Regions from separate parts of the Homo sapiens genome. Here all the other regions are linked to region 1. The links are contacts of gene promoters, found by promoter capture Hi-C in blood cells and fetal thymus (Javierre and others, 2016). All regions are on one chromosome and are shown on one strand. Each heading gives the region's core, a stretch centred on a gene start or on the middle of the fragment in contact. The rest is flanking DNA. Distances are from core to core; before and after follow the strand shown.

What was found. The method cuts DNA at HindIII sites, captures the fragments that hold promoters and counts their contacts. A CHiCAGO score of 5 or more calls a contact.
Region 2: a contact is called between a fragment that was not itself captured here and the fragment with the promoter of CDK3 in region 1, in 6 of 17 cell types (endothelial precursors, erythroblasts, neutrophils and 3 more). The highest score is 12.8, in endothelial precursors.
Region 3: a contact is called between a fragment that was not itself captured here and the fragment with the promoter of CDK3 in region 1, in 2 of 17 cell types (erythroblasts and endothelial precursors). The highest score is 8.6, in erythroblasts.

What each region holds. Positions count from the first base shown.
Region 1 is chr17:75,998,967-76,002,396 of GRCh38, forward strand. It overlaps CDK3 (cyclin dependent kinase 3), which reads left to right and starts at 1,889. Exons shown (of 8, transcript NM_001258.4): 1 at 1,889-2,001; 2 at 2,446-2,575; 3 at 2,908-2,985; 4 at 3,056-3,176; 5 at 3,282-3,430. The coding sequence starts at 2,460. TEN1 (TEN1 subunit of CST complex) reads left to right here. Exons shown (of 4, transcript NM_001113324.3): 4 at 1,175-1,620. The coding sequence ends at 1,296. TEN1-CDK3 (TEN1-CDK3 readthrough (NMD candidate)) reads left to right here. Exons shown (of 10, transcript NR_037709.1): 4 at 1,175-2,575; 5 at 2,908-2,985; 6 at 3,056-3,176; 7 at 3,282-3,430. LOC124904061 (a long non-coding RNA gene) reads right to left here and starts at 1,594. Exons shown (of 2, transcript XR_007065911.1): 1 at 839-1,594; 2 at 1-670. RefSeq lists an enhancer at 1,516-1,565 and a silencer at 1,696-1,775. The HindIII fragment of the contact is 39,600 bases long and covers 1-3,430 here.
Region 2 is chr17:75,908,893-75,912,322 of GRCh38, forward strand. FBF1 (Fas binding factor 1) reads right to left here. Exons shown (of 30, transcript NM_001319193.2): 29 at 3,300-3,415; 30 at 682-1,914. The coding sequence ends at 1,831. Among named protein-coding and RNA genes, the nearest start is that of MRPL38, 5.7 kb to the left of the region's middle. RefSeq lists a silencer at 1,971-2,131. The HindIII fragment of the contact is 1,248 bases long and covers 977-2,224 here.
Region 3 is chr17:75,927,680-75,931,109 of GRCh38, forward strand. FBF1 (Fas binding factor 1) reads right to left here. Exons shown (of 30, transcript NM_001319193.2): 7 at 2,318-2,368; 8 at 397-514. Among named protein-coding and RNA genes, the nearest start is that of FBF1, 12 kb to the right of the region's middle. The HindIII fragment of the contact is 1,427 bases long and covers 817-2,243 here.

The DNA.
Region 1 (3,430 bases), core at 639-3,138:
AGAGAGCAGAAAGAGCATGAGTGCAAAAAATTTTTTTAACTTTTTTTTTTCTCTTGCAAGCTATGACTGGGGAAAAAAGAAAGAAAAAAAAAATGTCAGCAATGCACAGTGGCTCACGCCTATAATCCATGCATGTTGGGAGGCCGAGGCGGGCAGATCACTTGACCCCAGGAGTTTGAAACCAGCCTGGGCAACATGGCGAGACCCCATCTCTACAAGAAATACAAAAATTAGCTGGGTGTGGTGGTGCGTCCCTGTAGTCCCAGCTCCTCAGGAAGCTGAGATGATCACCTGAGCCTGGGAGGTGGAGGCTACATTGAGCCATGATTGAGCCACTGCATTCCAGCCCAAGTGACAGAGCAACACCCTGTCTCAAAAAAAAAATTTTTTTTTTTAGGTGGAGTCTTGCTCTGTTGCCCAGGCTGGAGTGCAGTGGCGTGATCTTGGCTCACTGCAACCTCCACCTCCTGGGTTCAAGCAATTCTCCTGCCTCAGCCTTCCAAGTAGCTGGGATTACAGGCATGCACCACTACACGCGGCTAATTTTTGTATTTTTAGTAGAGATGGGGTTTCATCATGTTGGCCAGGCTGGTCTTGAACTCCTGACCTCAAGTGTTCCACATGCCTTGGCCTCCCAAAGTGCTGAGATTACAGGTGTGAGCCAGTTCACCTGTCAAAAGAAAGAAAATTTTTAAAAAGTCTCTCGGAGATGTCTTTCCTGTTTGGTGCCACCTGAATAGTGGCAAACCTTTCCATTATGTATCAGGTCACCACCGCATCTGCTAGAAGCCCCCCTCGTCCAGGGTGGGATGACCTGCTCCTATAAAGCCAAACTTACCGGGAGCTCAGTCTCTTGGATTTTTAAAATATGGGTGTCTCTTTTCCCCGGTTCCTGATGACATTGTGTCCCAAGGTGCCAAGGGGGCCTTTCCCTCAGTCCAGAGGGGTTTTCTGACCACCTGCTAAGTTCCAGACACGGGCCGACTGTGCATGACAGGCCCACGGTTCTAGGCCCAAATACTCAGTTGCCTTTGCCCCATATGCTGTTATTGTCCACATCACTTGCTGCCAAAACCCAGGACTGAGCTGTGGAGGGAACAGCTGGAATGCACCTTGGAGGACGTTGTTGACACGCCGCTCAGTCGCCGTTCGTGCCCTGGTGTTTGTCTTGCAGACAGAGGCTCCGTGGTGAAGGCGCGCGTGCTGACCTGTGTGGAGGGGATGAACCTGCCCTTGTTGGAACAAGCCATCCGGGAGCAGAGACTGTACAAGCAGGAGCGGGGCGGCAGCCAGTAGGAAACAGCAGCCTAGCAACACCCTCACCTGCTTCAGAGCCCGAACCCTCTGGAGCTGCAGGAGCCCGGGAGAGCACAGACGCCTCCCCAGCGACGGCCTTGTCTGGAGCTCGAAAGCCGAGGGGCGGGTGATGAATCCAGCCCCTTCCCCTACTTTGGGATTGGCTCAGCAATGAGAACCCAGAAAGCATGCCATAAATCCGACAGCCCCACCCCAGGAGACTGCAGGTGGCCGAGCTTGGGCGCCGGGGCCGTGCTTGGTGTGGGGCCATGGAGGGTTCCAGAAGGTCCTGGTGAATAAAGGCCCAGGGGGCGTGCTCTTGAAGTGTGCTCGTGGTGCAGCGCCGGCGGGGGCCAGGAGGGGGAGCTGCAACCCAGGCTGTGGGCTGCAGCCTCTCAGGGCTTCTGGTGAATTCTGGGCCTGGGGCCTCAGGGTAGGGCACCAGGGGCCCAGGGGCTGGGGTGGGGGGCCCAGGATGCAGGGGTCTGCCCCTGGCCAGGCTCTGCCTTCAGAGGAGGCTGAGCGTCGTCACACGGGCCGGGCTGAGGCCCTGGGCCCTGACCGTGCAGCCTAAGACAGGACTGTGGCTTTAAGACCCTCCTGACCCCTGACCTCTGCCCCCAGTGGCCCTGGCCCCTGGGCAGCCCTTCCTGGCCGCCATGTGTACCCAGAGCCTGGGACTGGCTGGGCTGGGCAGTGACCCAGGTGGGAAAGGGTGGTCTTGCCCTCTAAGGCCCGGCACAAGTGAGAGGCCTGGGGGTCCATGTTGGGCTGGGCTGGGCGAGGGGTGGTCTCTGACTTCCTGGGGGTTCTGGCTGGGATGGGCAGGGGGCTGGGTGGGAGAGTGTGGGCCCTGCCCTCCGAGGCCGGGCATGGGCGAGAAGCCTGGGGGTCCTGGCTGAACTGGGCTGGGTGAAGGGGGCCCCCTGACCCCCTTGGGGTCCGGGCTGGGCTGGGTGAGGGGCGGTTTCCGACCCCCAGCCAGGTTCCCAGGCAGGATGAGCTGGGGTTGGGGTGGCTAGGCCGTGGGCCTTGGGAGCTGGGCAGTCTGGGCTGGGCTGGGCTGGGCAGGGCGCCACATGGAAGCTGGAGGAGCAACGGGAGCGCTGGGCGTGGGGTGCAAATTGCCCGGTGCCTTCTGTTTCCCAGGCAGCTCTGTGGCCATGGATATGTTCCAGAAGGTAGAGAAGATCGGAGAGGGCACCTATGGGGTGGTGTACAAGGCCAAGAACAGGGAGACAGGGCAGCTGGTGGCCCTGAAGAAGATCAGACTGGATTTGTGAGTGCTGGGACGGCCCCTGAGTTACCCACCCTGGGCCATCACAACCTGGGCGCTCCCTGATCCGTTCCCTCTTTCCTGGAGTCCACGTTTAACTCCTCTGGGTGCTGCCCAGCAGCCCTTACCTGTCCTCTCCCCAGTTCACTGCCTTCTGACCAGCCTTTGCCGGGGCCCTGACTGTGGAGTTTGGTGGATGACGTGCCAAGGAGCACAGGTCTCCATTGCCGGGGCCCTGGTCATTCTGTGGGGTTAAGGAGAAGCCGATCCCCCTGGCTGGAAGTGCCCTTCTTGGCCCAAGTCTCTGCCCACGGCTGTGCCCTTGTTTCTTGCAGGGAGATGGAGGGGGTCCCAAGCACTGCCATCAGGGAGATCTCGCTGCTCAAGGAACTGAAGCACCCCAACATCGTCCGGTGAGTTGGGGATTGAGGTGGGGAAGCTGGGATGGCGAAGGTAGCATCCTGACTGCCATCTCCCTGTCAGACTGCTGGACGTGGTGCACAACGAGAGGAAGCTCTATCTGGTGTTTGAGTTCCTCAGCCAGGACCTGAAGAAGTACATGGACTCCACCCCAGGCTCAGAGCTCCCCCTGCACCTCATCAAGGTAGGGAAGGAAGGGCAGGGAAGGAGAGGTGACACCCCATCCCTGCCATCCCTGTCCACGCAGCACCTCCGCTCAGCTGGCTGCACCTCGCGCTCGTTTCTCCAGAGCTACCTCTTCCAGCTGCTGCAGGGGGTGAGTTTCTGCCACTCACATCGGGTCATCCACCGAGACCTGAAGCCCCAGAACCTGCTCATCAATGAGTTGGGTGCCATCAAGCTGGCTGACTTCGGCCTGGCTCGCGCCTTCGGGGTGCC
Region 2 (3,430 bases), core at 351-2,850, 90 kb before region 1:
CAGAGTTTCACCATGTTGGCCAGGCTGGTTTTGAACTCCTGATTTCAAGTGATCCACCCACCTTGGCCTCCCAAAGTGTTAGGACTACAGGCGTGAACCACCGTGCCTGGCCAATGGGTTTTCTAAAATACAAATATGGTTCAACCTTGTTTAAAATCTTCTAGTGAAGACCTGAAAATTTGCCCTCAGACAAATTTGCCCTGAAAAGTTGCACGTCTTTAACAAGATATGCAAAGCCCTCTCATTCTAACCTCTTCTCCCTACTCTGTCTTGAAGGCCATGCTCTCCCCCTGTGGGTCTCCCAGCACCGCCCTCCCCGATGTATGTGCTTGATCACCTGCAGGTCCTGCAGGTGGCTGCCTAGATACCAGCTGCCCCTGGGCCGACGTGCCCATCCTTAGACCCCCCCAGCTCTTTGCACAGGTCTGCCTCAGGACTGGTTGAGTCTCTTTTGTGGAGAATCAAATTTGAGACTTAACCAAGGCTTCCAATGGGGCATGTGATACTTCCCTCCTCAGTGTTGGTACCAGCCCCAGAAGCGCCTGAAAAGATCTTCCTCCCACACCAGCACCTACCAGGAGTGTAGCCTGCTCCTCTGGGAGGTAGGAGAGCGGGGTGGCTGACAGCGTGGAGCTTGGGGATTGGCCAGAGCAGAACTCAAATCCAGGCGCAGCTACTCACTGTCATTTCAGGCAGGTTATTTAATCTCCCCGGGCCTCAGTTTCTGCATGTTTGAAGCAGGGCTAATAGTACCCTTCTCCTGGCTGTGGTCCAGCTGCCAGGTGCCACCGCAGACCGCAGGTGCTGGAGGGGAGAGGCACGTGGCCAGAGGCGCCTGGTCCTGACCAATCTTATAGGCTGATCTTTTAATAAGAACATCTGCCTGTTCTTTGGGACTTGTCCAGCAAATAACAGGAAACATTTTCTAAGAAATAAGTATAAACTCCGATGAGCCATGGCAAAAGCAGTTTTTTTAAGCTTAGTCAAGTTGAAGCAGCGGGAGTGGAGGAGGATCAGAGAAACCTCTGTAGTTGTGATTGGTTCCTTGTCGCCTCCACTGCGTACCCGCTGAGCTGGGCTTTGGGCAGGTGAGCAGCACAGAGGCTTCCCTCCTCGTCCCTCCCCACACCCCACCATCGCCACAGCTCCCTCCGCCGCCGGTGGGGCACCCAGATGGGGAGGAAGCTGAGGAGGCCACTGTTCACCCAAACTGGTTGGTCCTTCGGGCAATGCTGGGAATAGGGTGGGGGCTCTGGGCAAGCCCAGGAGGAGGAGGGCCTGGCTGAGTTCCAGGAACATCTCACACCACAAGGGAGGATCTAGCTGGTGCCCTCCCTGTACTGTCAGGAGGCCAGAGGGCCCTTCTCCAGCTCATCAGGGAGGGAACTGCTCTGGCAGGGAGTAGGGAAGGCTGTTTGTGGCATCCCTCAAGAAAGCTCCTGCCTCAGAAGAGGCCCAGGCAAAAAGAGCCCACAACAGTCTACCTGTGGAGCAGGGGGAGCCCACAGAGCCCAGGGGGAGCCCACAGAGCCCAGTGAGAGCTGGGGGTCCTTGCTGCCAACTCAGACCCTCAGATCCAAGCCAATGGCTTTGGGGCAGGGCAGCCAAAGCCATGGTAAGATAGCCTACACCACAGAGCCCCAGAGGCAGGGGCTGCCCCGGGCTGGCACATTTGGAAAGGATGCACTTGCACCCTGTCCACGGAAGAGCTGTCATCAGGCCTCAAGCATCTCAGAATCCTCCCCAGGCACTGCCTCCATGGAGGCAGCCGGAGGAACAGGACAGTTCTGGGGTCCGAACCCTCTGTTGGGGAATCGGCTGGGGTCCCACTCAGGCTGAATGAGATGTCAAATTGTAGGACCCTTTCTTCAGGGTCTCCAGGAAGAACTGTTCATTCTCCAAGAAGTCACGGTCCTGCAAGGCAGGTTTGGATGGGCGGTCACCTTCCCTGAGCTGAGAGGGAGGTGGAGCCCTGGATGCTAGCTGAGCCAGCCGTCACTGAGGCCCCTCCCCACATCGTCCCTGACTCTGCCTGGCTCTGGGAGTCAGCAGGGGCCATGAAAGAGCCCAGGTATGGAGTGAGACAGACCACAGTCTCAATCCTGGCAAGGTTACTTGTTTGCTGTGGAACTTACGAGCACATGACTTCATGTCTCTAAGCCTCAGTTTCCTTGTCTGTAAACATTCCTTGTAGCCCTTCCTTGCAGGGCTGTGTGAGGGTAAAAGCTTAAAAAATACACAAAGCAGGCCAGGCACAGTGGCTCATGCCTGTAATCCTAGCTAATCCGCAGGCCAAGGGGGTAGGATCACTTGAGCCCAGGACTTTGAGACCAGCCGAGGCAACATCGTGAGACCCCATTTCTAAATATAAATAAATAAGTAAAATATAAACAAAGCCTTCGGCATTGAGGTTGGCACACAGGAAATGCTCCATAATGACAACTGTTATCATTATAGTTTTGTTTTGTTTAGTTTGAGACAAGTGCCTTGCTCTGTCACCCAAGCTGAAGTGCAGTGGTGTGAACACACCTGTAGCCTCGACCAGCTGGGCTCAAGCAATCCTCCCACCTCAGCCTCCCAAGTAGCTGGGACTATAGATATGCCCCACCATGCCCAGCTAATTTTTAAATTTTTAATATTTATTTTTTTGAGACAGAGTCTCGCTCTGTTGCCTGGAGTGCAGTGGCACCGTTGTGGCTCACTGCAGCCTCGACCTCCCGGGCTTAAGTGATCCTCTTACCTCAGCCTCCGGAGTAGCTGGGAGTACAGGTGTATGCCACCACGCTCAGCTATTTTTTTGTGGAGACGAGGTCTCACTATGTTGCCCAAGCTGGCCACGAACTCCTGGGCTCAAGTAATCCTCCCACCATAGCCTCCCAAAGTGCTGGGATTACAGGTGTGAGCCACGCACCTGGTCCTCTTTTTTTAGTTTTTCATTTTGTAGAGACGGTGTCTCAACATATTGCCCAGGCTGGTCTCAAACTCCTGGGCTCAAGTGATCCTCCTGCTTCAACCTCCCAAAGTGTTGGGATTACAGGTGTGAGCCACTGTGCCCAGCCTGTTATCATTATTGCTATAGGTTATCATGAGGTTTAACTGAGATGACATATGCAAATTGCTTTGCACAGAACCTGGCCTAGTGTGGAAGTCTGAGCATTGGCTCACTAAGCAAACTGCAGTTTTACTCCCCAGGAGCTGGGGTCACCCCTCCCCAGGGCTACCATGTGCTCCTCCCTGCCTCTGCCCTGAGCTGGAAGGACTCGTGAACACAAGGATCCCCAAGGCCAGGAGAGACTCACCTGCTCTGCCATGTGCCTCAGCAGTGCCAGCCTGGCATGGAGGTGCAAGGGGCTGGGGTCCAGGCCAGTTGGCGGCTGGCTGCACCAACGGGTGGTGGGAGCAGGAGGCATGAGGGCTGAAAAGGCCAAGG
Region 3 (3,430 bases), core at 280-2,779, 72 kb before region 1:
GTCTCCAGTTCTGCCATGGGCTTCTGGCAGGGAAACGAGGTAGGAGCTACCTCTGCTTCCTCATCATGAGTCACTCCAGAGACATGGGTTCAGGAGAGGCACAGGCTGCCATAGAGTTCTCCATTTTAACTCACACAGCTTCTCCAGGAGCTGCCCATGTTGGACCCAGAGGGCCTGGAACAGCTCGAGGAAGGGAGGAAACTCAAGCTGTCCCCTTACCCCACCACACACACTCAAACACACACACGCACAAATGCTCCTTGGCCTCTCCATCCTGTGCAGAGAAAACCCAAGGACATGAACGCTTCCTACTAGCATCTTCCACGTCCTCAAAGTCTCCCTAGCAGATGCGAGGAGCCGTCTCCCATGCACCTTTCTCACTGGCTACTGACCCACCTGCAGGCTTGGGGTGGTTGGGCAGCTCTCCTTTCCCAGGGTCCTTTGCAGCTTTTTTGCTAGGGGCTGAATTAGATTTCTTCAGACCTAAGATATCAGCATCCATGCCGTCCAGGTCCTAGAAAACCAGGGAGGGAGGGCAGAGGACTATGTCTGATAAGGGGCTGAGGACTTCCACCTGAGAGAGATGGGCTGTTGGCACCCCAGGTGTAGAATTGTGAGAAAACAAAGGAAAATGAGAAAACTGTTGAGAAAAACAGTGAGTGAAGAAAGAAAATGGAACTAAAGGTAAGCAGGGGGAGGTGGAATGGAGTCCAGCTCATGGTTCTGGGATGAGAGACTCAAAGTCAGCACCAAAAATTGAGTCAGAGGACTTGTGGGTTATGCCCAGGGATCCTAGGTGGCTGGTCTCGGGAAAAAAGCTTTCTTTTTTTTCTTTTTTTAGACAGGATATTGGCCGGGCGCGGTGGCTCATGCCTAGAATCCCAGCACTTTGGGCCGAGGCAGGTGGATCACCAGGTCAAGAAATCGAGACCATCCTGGCCAACATGATGAAACCCTGTCTCTACAAAAAATACAAAAATTAGTTGGGTGTGGTGGTGCACGCCTGTAATCCCAGCTACTTGGGAGGCTGAGGTAGGAGAATCGCTTGAACCTGGGAGGTGGAGGTTGCAGTGAGCCGAGATCATGCCACTGCACTCCAGCCTAGGCAACAGAGCAAGACTCCGTCTCAAAAAAATAAAAATAAATTAAAAATAAAATAAAATAAAGACAGAGTCTCACTCTGTCACCCAGGCTGGAGTGAAGTGGTGCGATCATAGCTCATTGCAGCCTCCAACTTCTGAGCTCAAGTGATCCACCTGCCATGGCCTCCCAAAGTGCTGGCATTACAGGAGTAAGCCACCATGCCAGACTTTTTTTTTTTTTTTGAAGACAGAGTCTCACTCTGTCACCACCCAGGCTGTAGTGCAGTGGTGTGATCATAGCTCATTGCAGCCTCCAACTCCTAGGCTCAAGCGAGCCTACTGCCTCGGCCTCCCAAAGTTCTGGGATTACAGGTGCCTGGCCTTTGAGGAGAAAGATTTCAAGATGAGATTAAAGAAGCTGAATCTGGACCGGGTGTGGTGCCTCATGCCTGTAATTACAGTATTTTGGGAGGCCAAGGTAAGAGAATCGCTTAAGGCCAGGAGTTTAAGGTTGCAATGAGATCACACCACTGCACTCCAGCCTGGGTGATAGAATGCGATGGTGTCTCTAAAAAAAAACCCAAAAAACAAAAATACACAACAAAAACAAGAGCCCCACAGGGCTGTAACCAAAAACGCGGCTTTGTCCTAGGGACTGTGGCAAAATGGGTTAACTAAAAGGGACACAAAACCCCAAGGGTCAGACAGGAAGGTGCTGCTGGCTGGAAGGAGAGGGAGAACAAGGTGTCTTAGGCCAAGCTAGAGATTATGTCCTTACAAATTATTCAGAATCTGTGCCTTAAAAATCCATTGCAAAGATTGGCGCTGGGCTTGATCTGATGAGAAGACAGCAGTATTGAAGGGGGCTTGGCAGGGGATGTGGAGAGAAATATGGAGAAAGATTAAGAACAAGCATTAGAGGAAAGAGTCTCCCCCTCTGTCTTCTAGGTGGAGGTGAGGGGACCCAGCTAGGTGGGCCTCCGAGTAGAGCTGGCCCCGTTTCCCCAGAGGCCTGTGGCACTCTCCACTCTCTATATACCAGGAACACTGGTTGATACTCAGAAAGGCAAGGAGGCCAACGGCTCACAGACGAGTTCCATGCTTGCACGAGGAAGGGCTCAGAAACACAGGTTGTAAAGGGAGAAATTAGAAGGAGAATGAAGCTTTGGTACAAAATATCATGACCCCACCCCACCCACCCCCAGTTCTAAGAATCGTGCAAGCTGTTTCCTTACCTTCATGGCCTGGAGCAGAGCCTGTGGGTCTGCCTCTGAGATACCTGAAACCTAAGTCCACAATGAGGGTGAGGACACAGATGAGGAGGCACATTAGTCAAGGCCCAATAAAACTCAGGGTCCTGGCCCCTTGCTTCTGTTAGGGCAGACGGCGCGGCAGGAGCAGAGCTTGGCCAATGGAGCTTACACAGGAGGGTGGCTTTGTTCCCCTTGCTTGGGCTTGGCAGTTGTTTGAAGCCAAACCTGCCTGGTTTTAGAGACTCAGAGAGCACTGCCATTCCTACTCCTTCCAACCATAGAGAACTCTTCCATCCAGGACTGAAATTCTGCTACTTCCCACCCATGCCAATGGACAGCTATGGAGTTTATAAGGGGAAAGGAGCAACATCTAAGACTCTAGCAGTTTCAGGGAGCTCTCCTTTCCACTCATCTTACTACAGGAAAGAGGATTCTGCTTTGGGTCCACTCGGCAGCCCTTGGGCATTATTTACAGTGGCTCACGCCTGTAATCCCAGCACTTTGGGAGGCCGAGGCGGGTAGATCACTTGAGGTCAGGAGTTTGAGGCCAGCCTGGCCAATGTGGTGAAACCCCGTCTCTACTAAAAATACAAAATTACCTACTAAAAATACAAAAATTATTTTCTTTGGCTGGGCACGGTGGGTCAGCCTGTAATCACAGTACTTTGAGAGGCCGATGTGGGTGGATCAAGAGGTTAGGAGTTTGAGACCAGCCTGACCAACAGGGTGAAACCCCATCTCTACTAAAAATACAAAAATCAGCCAGGCGTGGTGGTGGGTGCCTGTAATCCCAGCTACTCAAGAGGCTGAGGCAGGAGAATCGCTTGAACCAGGAGGCGGAGATTGCAGTGAGCCAAGATCGCACTACTGCATTCCAGCCTGGGCGACAGAGGGAGACTCCATCTCAAAACAAAAACAACAACAACAAAAATTAGCCAGTCATGGTGGCAGGCACCTGTAAGCCCAGCTACTTGGGAGGCTGAGGCAGGAGAATTGCTTGACCCCGGGAGGCAGAGGTTGCAGTGAGCCGAGATCACACCACTGCACTCTAGCCTGAGCAACAGAGGGAGACTCCATCTCAAAAAACAAACAAAA